2 separate regions of the Homo sapiens genome follow, and region 1 is linked to region 2. Evidence: promoter capture Hi-C in 16 types of primary human blood cells and fetal thymus (Javierre and others, 2016). All regions are on one chromosome and are shown on one strand. Each heading gives the region's core, a stretch centred on a gene start or on the middle of the fragment in contact. The rest is flanking DNA. Distances are from core to core; before and after follow the strand shown.

The links. The method cuts DNA at HindIII sites, captures the fragments that hold promoters and counts their contacts. A CHiCAGO score of 5 or more calls a contact.
Region 1: a contact is called between a fragment that was not itself captured here and the fragment with the promoter of BHMT in region 2, in 1 of 17 cell types (erythroblasts). The highest score is 5.5, in erythroblasts.

Annotation. Positions count from the first base shown.
Region 1 is chr5:79,464,046-79,468,644 of GRCh38, reverse strand. All of the region lies in intron 1 of HOMER1 (homer scaffold protein 1), which reads left to right. LOC107986426 (a long non-coding RNA gene) reads left to right here. Exons shown (of 3, transcript XR_001742758.2): 3 at 1-636. Among named protein-coding and RNA genes, the nearest start is that of HOMER1, 48 kb to the left of the region's middle. The HindIII fragment of the contact is 4,339 bases long and covers 405-4,599 here.
Region 2 is chr5:79,108,727-79,113,625 of GRCh38, reverse strand. It overlaps BHMT (betaine--homocysteine S-methyltransferase), which reads right to left and starts at 1,817. Exons shown (of 8, transcript NM_001713.3): 1 at 1,708-1,817. The coding sequence starts at 1,740. RefSeq lists an enhancer at 647-1,491. The HindIII fragment of the contact is 17,379 bases long and covers 1-4,899 here.

The DNA of each region.
Region 1 (4,599 bases), core at 1,325-3,824, 350 kb before region 2:
ATGAGAACTACTTATATGTCTGTCGATAAGGAAATAGCTACAGAAAATATTGTCTAGTCCAACGTTCTCCACTAGAAATATGATGTGAACAACATATGTTATTTGAAATTTAGTTTTAAGGTTCTAAAAAGGAAGTCAAAATCAATTTTTATATATTTTGACACAGTTTATCCAAAATGCTATCTTTTTAAAAGTGATTAATGTAAAAGTCATGGAGATACATTACATTTTTTAAAAAAATACTAAGTCTTTGAAATCCATTATGTATTTTGCATTTAGAGCACATCTCAATTTGAATGTTAAATGTTTATTGGAAATACTTGATCTGAATTTAAATTTCATAAAATTTCTGTTGGAAAAAGTAGATTCACATACCCAGGTTGTTCCATATATATTTAAAAGCTTTTCAGACACTGAACTGAGTATCAGATAAAGTTTAAATTAATTCACTTTCTCAGTTGCACCAGCTGAATTTCACATGCGTAGTGGTCAGGTGGCTAGTGGCTACCATACTGGATAGTGTAATTCTAATCATAACATGTATTGTTATGTGGCAGTTAAATGACCTAGGCTGGGCATGGTGGCTCATACCTTTAATCGCAGCACTTTAGGAGGCCGAAAAGTGAGAGGATCGCATGAGCCCAGGAGTTTGAGACCAGCATGGGTAACAGTGAAACCCCATCTCTAGAAACTAAAAAAAGCTGGATGTGGTGGTGCACGCTCATCTGTAGTCCCAGCTACTCTGGAGGCTAAGGCAGGAGGATCGCTTGAGCCTGAGAGGTCAAGGCTGAAGTGAGCTCTGATCGCACCACTGCACTCCAGCCTGGGCAACAGGGCAAAACCCTGTCTCAAAACAAAACACCGGCCTATATTATATAAAGTAAAATGTGGCCGATTATTCAAATTTTGCATTGTCAATAAGAACTAGAGAAGTGCTGTGACGTTTTATTGTTTGTTTTGAGCAATTTAAAATATTCACAATAATACAGGGAATACTATACACATATCCACTTTTCAAATTTCACAAATGTTAACATTTTGTTCAAGTATCTCTGAATCTTTCTCTTCAATCCTGAGTTTACTTATTAGAATATTTATTTGTTTAGATATTATATGGACTGAACATCCACTCATTTAGTTTGTAGCAAGTAGAAAAGTGTACCTTAGAGTATTATGATTGTTCGTTGAAGGTGATATTAGCACTTAAATGGCCTTTATAGCATTTCATTAGTTTTTTTTTTTTTTTTTTTTTTGAGATGGAGTTTCACTCTTGTTGCGCAGGCTGGAATGCAATGGTGCAATCTCGGCTCACTGCAACCTCAGCCTCCCAGGTTCAAGCCATTCTCCTGCCTCAGCCTCCTGAGTAGCTGGGATTACAGGCCCCTGCCAGCACGCCCAGCTAATTTTTTTATTTTTAGTAGAGACATGGTTTCACCATGTTGACCAGGCTGGTCTTGACCTCAAGTGATCCGCCCGCCTTAGCTTCCCAAAGTGCTAGGATTACAGGCCTGATCCTCTGCGCCCAGCCTAATTCATTTGTTTTTAAAGTTTTTAAGGCCGGGCACAGTGGCTCACACCTGTAATCCCAGCACATTGGGAGGCCGAGGCAGGCAGATCACAAGATCAAGAGATCGAGACCATCCTGGCCAACATGGTGAAACCCTATCTCTACTAAAAATACAAAAATTAGCCAAGTGTGGTGGTGCACACCTGTAATCCTAGCTACTTGGGAGGCTGAGGCAGGAGAATTGCTTGAATCCAGGGGGCAGAGGTTGCAGTGAGCCGAGATTGTGCCACTGCACTCCAGCTTGGTGACAGAGTGAGACTCTGTCTAAAAAAAAAATAGTTTTTAAGAACTGGATGTCTATTGGGAAATCACTTAGATTTTTAATAAAACGCCAGGAGTTTAACCTATTTGGCAATAGGTCAAATAGTACTACCTATATTAACAATAATTAAATTCTAGTTATTAACAAGAGATTACTTTCTTTAGATTTCCCAGGCATATACTGTCAGTTCTCAGAATTTAGCTTGAGTTAGTGGAAATCATTTGGGAAGAGGAGAATATTTAAAGTCAAGTAAAATGGAATGTGCCATATCAATTCTAATTGTAATTTATTTATTATTATTATTATTATTATTATTTTTGAGACAGGGTCTCCTCTGTTGGCCAGGCTGGAGTGCAGTGGCACGATCTCAGCTCACTGCAGCCTTGACTTACCTGGCTCAGGTGATCTCTCCTGTCAAGTAGCTGGGACCACAGGTGTGCGCCACCATGCCCGGCTAATTTTTTGTAGAGATGGGGTTTCCCCATATTGCCCAGCTGGTCTTGAACTCCTGGGCTCAGGCAATCTGCCTGTCTCAGCCTCCGAAAGTGCTGGGATTACAGGTATGAGCCACCACACCCAGCCTAAAAATGTAATTTTAAATGTGATCTATCAGGCATACTTGATATATTTTTAAACACTGAAATTTTACCTGAAATGGATGGGGTTTTTAATGGGTGGTAAGGACAAAGTCACTTGGCAGTTATTTAATACATACCAAGCAAGTTTCTTTGAACATTGAAGATGTTGCTTAAATGTGCATTGAATGAGGTTGCTTGCTTTTTACTCTGAATTTCAGCATATTCCTTAATACTTTATAGCTACTTATTAAAGTGGCCAAGAGTAAGTACTAAAATCTCTTAATAACTAATACCATGTCCTATAGATTATAAAAACTACTCTTAAAGTAAGAGGTGACATATAAGAAATGTAAACAGTAGCTCACGCCCGTAATCCCAGCACTTTGTGAGGCTGAGGCCGGCGGATCACGAGGACAGGAGATCGAGACCATCCTGGCTAACACGGTGAAACCCCATCTCTACTAAAAAATACAAAAAATTAGCAGGGTGTGGTGACGGGTGCCTGTAGTCCCAGCTACTCGGGAGGCTGAGGCAGGAGAATGGCGTGAACCTGGGAGGTGGAGCTTGCAGTGAGCCAAGATTGCACCACTGCACTCCAGCCTGGGCGACAGAGCGAGACTCTGTCTCAAAAAAAAAAAAAAAAAAAAAAAAAAGAAGAAATGTAAACAGTACTGTTACTCTTTAAGTGTATTTTTATATAATTTAAGAATCTTAATTTCCAAATGGAAATTTTAGATTTGATATTTTCTTCAAATACATCAATTAAATACTTAATGTCATGAAAATATTTCTGATAACTATAATGCAAACAATTATTTTTTAAAACCTTTAATTTCAGTGTTCACCCAACAGATTAAAAGATCAAGGAATTCAGATCATACATTTTTTTTTCTTTTTTAAAGAGACAGGGTCTTGCTCTGTCACCCATCCTGGAATGCAGTGGTGTACAATCATAGCTCGCTGCAGCCTCCAACTCCTGGGCTCAAATGATCCTCCTGCCTCATCCTCTTGAGTAGCTGAGACTATAGGCATGTGCCACCACAGCCAGCTAATTTTTAAATTTTTTATGGAGGCGAGGTCTTGCTGTTGGCCAACCTGGTCTGGAACTCATGGGCTCAAGCGATCCTCCCGCTTTGGCCTCCCACAGCACTAGGACTACAGAGGTGAGCCACTGTGCCTGGCCAGATCATACAATTAAAAAAAAAAATCCTTCCAGAAGTCTCGATACTTCTATTATAGCAAGGTTACTTTACAATTTTGTATTTGCTATAGAGTAACTTCCAGGTTTTAAAAAACATGCACCTGCTATATTTTTGGTTCATCACTAGGTGGAGTTGTTGCAGTATAATTATGTGTTGGGTAGCCATTAGCAGAAAAACCTTTGCATTCTTCAAAGTTCGTATATGGTTTTTAAAAAAGAACATTGTATGTATAAGCAATCAGCTTATTACACATATCATGGCATAGGGACATACAGTTGGTAGTATGTTATATTATGCAGTCATAATCTCTGAGCAGCATCAAAACAGGTATCTTAATGAGATTTTTCATGGGGTAGGATATATGTATGAGAAAGAGAGGAGGTGGTGAGATTTAAACCAGTTCCCTGATAATCGTGTGGAGTTTCAATTTATATTATTAAGTTGTACAGGATAATTCTTTCTAGGAAATTCCAGTGCTTGAGCTGCTGCATCCAAAGTCATGCTATGCCACTTCATAGTGGCACTGAAACTAAATTCTCCAGCCATTACCTATCAAGTTAAATGGTAATTAGTGTCCGTCTATTCCTGGACTTATCCTTGTCATTCTCATTTTGGCCTGAACAAGTATTGTTCAGCTTCTCTTGCCACTTCAGTCACCCAAAAGCAAGCTGAGGGTAGAATGTTTTTTGTCTTACTTTCCTGTTTACTTCAAATCAAGGGGGATGTTTTTGTCGGGAATTGGATGTACCTTCAGCACCTGTAGTCCTACAGTTAGGCATGTTTGGATTTCGCTCCTCTCCTACTTTCCCTTATTCCTCTCAGTTGAGTTCCAACCTGTTAAAATTGTCATTCTTTGATTCTTTGGCAGTCTTCAAAAATGGCCCCTAAAGCATTATTTTCCATCGTTAATTGTTATGTAAGTGTAATTTCTTCACAGTGCCATTTTAGAAAGATATTTTAATACCTATACAAGGTTAAGAAAAATTAAAC
Region 2 (4,899 bases), core at 568-3,067:
TAGCAGAATATACACCAGAATTTAACAGGCACTGTTCTTTGTGCTTTCCCTCATTGTTTATAATGAACATGTGCAAACTTTGTAACATTTATTTTAATTTTAAACTCAAATGTGTAGACATGTTATTGTCCATATATTGTTTTAACACTGACATATGCACGGAAACAAGTTACTAGGAAACTGTTTTTTCCATCTTACATTCATCTGTTGCTTAGATAATTCTACAAAGATAATTCTTTAAAATGTTAGATTTTCTGAGTTTGAGTTTGGGGAATAAGTTAGACTTACGTGGCTATGAGAATGGGGACAAACAAAAAATATCTATATCTATAGGAATCATCCTTCCCAGTCTCTGTGGACTATTCATTTAGTACATTTAGGGACTGGCGAAATTCTCACCCTCCTTTGACTGGTGATAGTCCATAGTCCTTTGCCATCTCAACACCCACTCATGCCATCAACATGCATCCACGATGCTGCATTTAGAATCTGTAACCGAATTGACCTTCTTCCTTGTGTAGAGGTCTTTTTGATTTGGGAGGCCATCCCTTTAGAAACTGGGCACACCTCAGCTGGTTCTCCAGCAGGGCAGGCACTGGGATGAGAGCTGGACCTTTCTCACTGTCCTTACAGCCCAGAGGATACAGTTGGCCTGGCCCCATCTGCCTCCCTACCATTTTCCGGGGGCCTCTGTCGTGCCAGGCCTGGGACTGGGCATTTGACCAAAAGGTCAAGTTTATTCTCTCCTCCCTCCATCCTTCTCTCTCTCTTCCCACCTGTCCAGTCTCATTCCACGGCAGTCAGTCCATCTATCCATCCGTTCCCCAAATTAGAGGAAGGCCTACCGTCTGGACTGAAAATACCCCTCCCAACAAGCCACTGGGATAGCCAAGAGATGGACTTGTTCATCTGGAGCTGGAATTGGGTTTTACAATTTCATCAACAGCCCTTCCTCAGTATCTTACAGCCACTCTGCCCATTTTTTCTTAAACCATGTTTTCGAGGCTGACATTTCGGATGACATTTTTCTGTCATCACGGACATCAAATTGCCTGTGAAAATCTGCAATCACCCAACCAGCGCCTGGGCCTTGGGTGCAGCGAGAACCCGGCGGGGAGGCGGCCCCGACACCCGCGGTGCAGATCCAGGCGGGAAATGTCGGAGCCAGCGCCGTGCACTCCTCCCTGTTCTGGGCGCGCCGGGTGCAGAGGGCGCTCGCGGCGGCCTCGGACACAGATGCGGAGGGGCTCCGTGGGGACGGGATATCGCGCCTGCGGGGCTAGGAGCAGTATCTCTAGGGAGTTTTCTGGTCTTGGGGTGCCAGATTCAGAAGATATTGGAAGGCTCGGAGTTCTGGGGACACCCAGCCGTCAGGGAGGGCTCAGAGGGTGCCTTTGGGTCTGAGAGGCAAGGATCACATAGATCTGGGGCGCACTCTGGTCCAAGCTGGGCTGGGGCTGGAGGGGACAGAGGCGCTCTGGGGGCGCGCTCTGAACGTGGGGCAGGAGTGGGGAGGCTCAGAGGCGCCTTGGGGTCCTGCTGGAGAAGTTCTGGAAGCACATTCTGGTCTGAGGCTGAGGGAGGGGAGGGAGTAGGAGGATGATGGGTACCAGGCAGGGTCCGAGGGCCCCTCTGCGCTCCCAGAGGCTGGGATACAGAGCAGGTGGGAGGGGAAGGAGAGCGCCCTCGGGTCCCCTGGAGACTCACCTTCTTGGCCTTTTTGCCCCCAACGGGTGGCATCTTCGTGGTGTCCAGACAGGTGGTCGACACGGATGCGGACCGACTAGGCGAGCCTTCCCGCTGCGCAGCCCCGAGCTGCTCCGAGTCCGCAGCCTGCCTCTTTATACCCGCAGTTGGGCGTGGGGAGGGCCTCCCAGCCACCGCGCGGGCCAACACGGACCTTGGGCGGGAACACGCCCACCAGCCCTTCATCAGGCCCGCCTCCTGTTGGGAACCTGGCCTGCCAAGGAGGTAATCCAGATTGTTCACCCAAATGGGTGGAACCACCGAAAAGTAAGATAAGAAAAAGCGAGGTTGCCACTCGCTCAGATTTCAAACCTGCCTAGCGTCCCTTTTGCCTCTTGCACTTTTGCCCCGACCCTGACCGTCCTCTCGCTCACCTGGGATCATGCACCATGGCCCACTTAGGCTGCCAGAGAGGCCTCTGAGAAGTCCATTCGATGCTCAGATATTTGTCAAAGGCCAAGGCGTCAAGATTATGGAATCAGGGGATGAAGTCCTGGAAGATCTTCAGCCTGGAGTGTGATCTCCTGTGTGATATACATCCAGTATAACGGGACACAAATGCGGCTTTAGTAGAGGAGTCCAATACTAACCCTGAATTGGCGGGTATGTTCAAAATGACCTTCTACCCCTATACCCAAACATGCCTTGCAGTTTCTAATAACACAGTAGTTTCTAATAAGAATATGTTTGTAATATTTAACAAGGACAGACTTTTAACATTTATAAATGGAAGCAGAAATGTACTTTGAAGACTTCAAAATTCAGCATGAAAACGATATAAAAACATAGACATTAGAAGAACTGGAGGGAATAGAGATGTTAACAGTAGTTACCTATTGATGGCGGAATTAAGGCTTGTTTTATTTTATTCTTCATGTTTCACTGTATTTTCCAAAATATTTTTATAATGAGAATACATTGATTTTAAAATAATAAAAACATTACTTTAAAAAATGTACAGCATGGCCTGCACGGTGGCTCATGCCAGTAATCCTAGCACTTTGGGAGGGTGAGGCGGGTGGATCACCTGAAGTCAGGAGTTCGAGACCAGCCTGGCCAACATGGTGAAACCCCCGTCTCTGCTAAAAATACAAAAATTAGCCGGGCATGGTGGCAGGCGCCTGTAATCCCAGCTACTCGGGAGGCTGAGGCAGGAGAATCGCTTGAACCCTGGGGGCAGAGGTTGCAGTGAGCCGAGATTGTGCCATTGCACTCCAGCCTGGGCAAAAAGAGTGAAACTCTGTCTCAAAAGAAAAAAAAATGTACAGCATGACAGTAAATAGCCTACAGAACAATGAAATATCTGAAACACAGTTCAGAAAATTTTACCCAAATAAAAGCATGTAAAAAAATTCTGTATGTGGACAAACAACCTCCATTTCAACACATGCAGAGAAGAAAGTTACTGCAACACCTGATGAATTAATACAAATTTAACGGCTAAAGTGACATGTGTTTGAAATACAACTGAGAAAGTAAAAATGTCCTTTTGCTTCTAAGTATGTCAAGTTTAAAATGGAAAAAGAAATGAAAAGGTGAAAGGATATACTGTTATTCAAGTGATCTATTATTTCATTGGCTCCTCCACCCCCAACTGTGATCTGGGGTCAGCAAGAATGAGGCATGAGGTAAAGTCATTCTTCACAGTACCTAGATTAAAAAAAAAAAACACCTTGAAGGCATTGGAGTATCCGAATAGGTAACAGTTTAGTTAGTTAATGCGTTAACTAGTTAAGGTATTCACCTGGTGAGCACTGGTGAGATGAACAGGTCTAGAGTGAGCCCCGCGGTGGCTGCAGGGAGCAGCCGCAGTCGTGGGTATCTGGCACTAGGAGGCGGTATAAGCACTCTAACACTCAATAAAGGCTGAAAGCCGACGTTCCCAATTTCAGTTTCCTCAAAATGTGGCAAAACTTGGGAGAAATTTTAAACTAGTAGCATTAAATTTAGAAGTGAATTATGAATTTTTAATAGGTAATATAGACACATGGCAAAAATTTTACTTTTTTAATCTTTATTTCTCCAAGAACAAACATGGCAAAAAAAATTTAGAAGCCTTTCCCCAGCTGCTGTTGCAGATCAAGTCCCCTCCCTGGAGGTAACCACTATTGCCTGTTAACCGTTCTTCCAGAGGAATTTTATGCATACCTAAGTGTATAGATGTATATAAAAGGATTTGTACTCGAACGTAGGGAATTTTCGTTTTTTAAAAAAATTATCGACTCCCAGCTTTTCCAGAATGATTTATAGGTGCTGTCAAAATATTTTTGTTTTTTCTGGGCCTCTCAATTTGTTGTCCTAACTATCCCATGCCCCCACCCCCAATTAGGTCCATTTAAAAAATTATTCACTTATTTCCATAATAGATGATAATATCCACCATGTATGTAAAAGGCACTAAGCCTTTTACTTACACAACATTATTTACCCCACACAACTCTGTGAGGTGGGTGTCCCCTCTTTGTTCTCAAGAACCACGAAGTTAGGGAGTTAGATGGATCATCAGCATGCTCCCTGAAGTTTCTTTGCCCCATTCCCAGAGAACTAAGTCTGCTTGGATACCACTTAGGAAGTGAGGTTTTTTGCTTGTTTGTTTGTTTTTTTGAGATAGAGTCTCACTCTGTCGCCCAGGCTGGAGTGCAGTGGTGCAATCTCAGCTCACTGCAACCTCTGCCTTCTGGGTTCAAGTGATTCTCCTGCCTCAGCATCCCGAGTAGCTGGGATTACAGGCTGGCGCCACCACACCCGGCTAACTTGTATTTTTTGGTAGAGACGGGGTTTCACCATGTTGGAGAGGCTGGTCTTGAACTCCTGACCCCAGGTGATCCATCCGCCTCGGCCTTCCAAAGTGCTGGGATTACAGGCGTGAGCCACTGCACCTGGCAGGAAGTGAGTTCTGCAATAAACTGTCCTTGGGAGGCTGCCTATGTTCTCTGATCTCTACTGGAGTCAACCAGATGAGGGAGGTCATAAGACTGAAGTCCATGGCTGTGTACAAAGATGTTGGGGGTTAAAAATAAATCCCAAAGAAGAAGAGGAGACTTAGAGCTGGCGATCCACCCCCTTCATTTTACAACCTCAAAAGATACTCGGTTATTGTTCTGTCTCTGACCAGTGCTTTGTTCTATTTGAAATCCTATTTATTCACTCAAT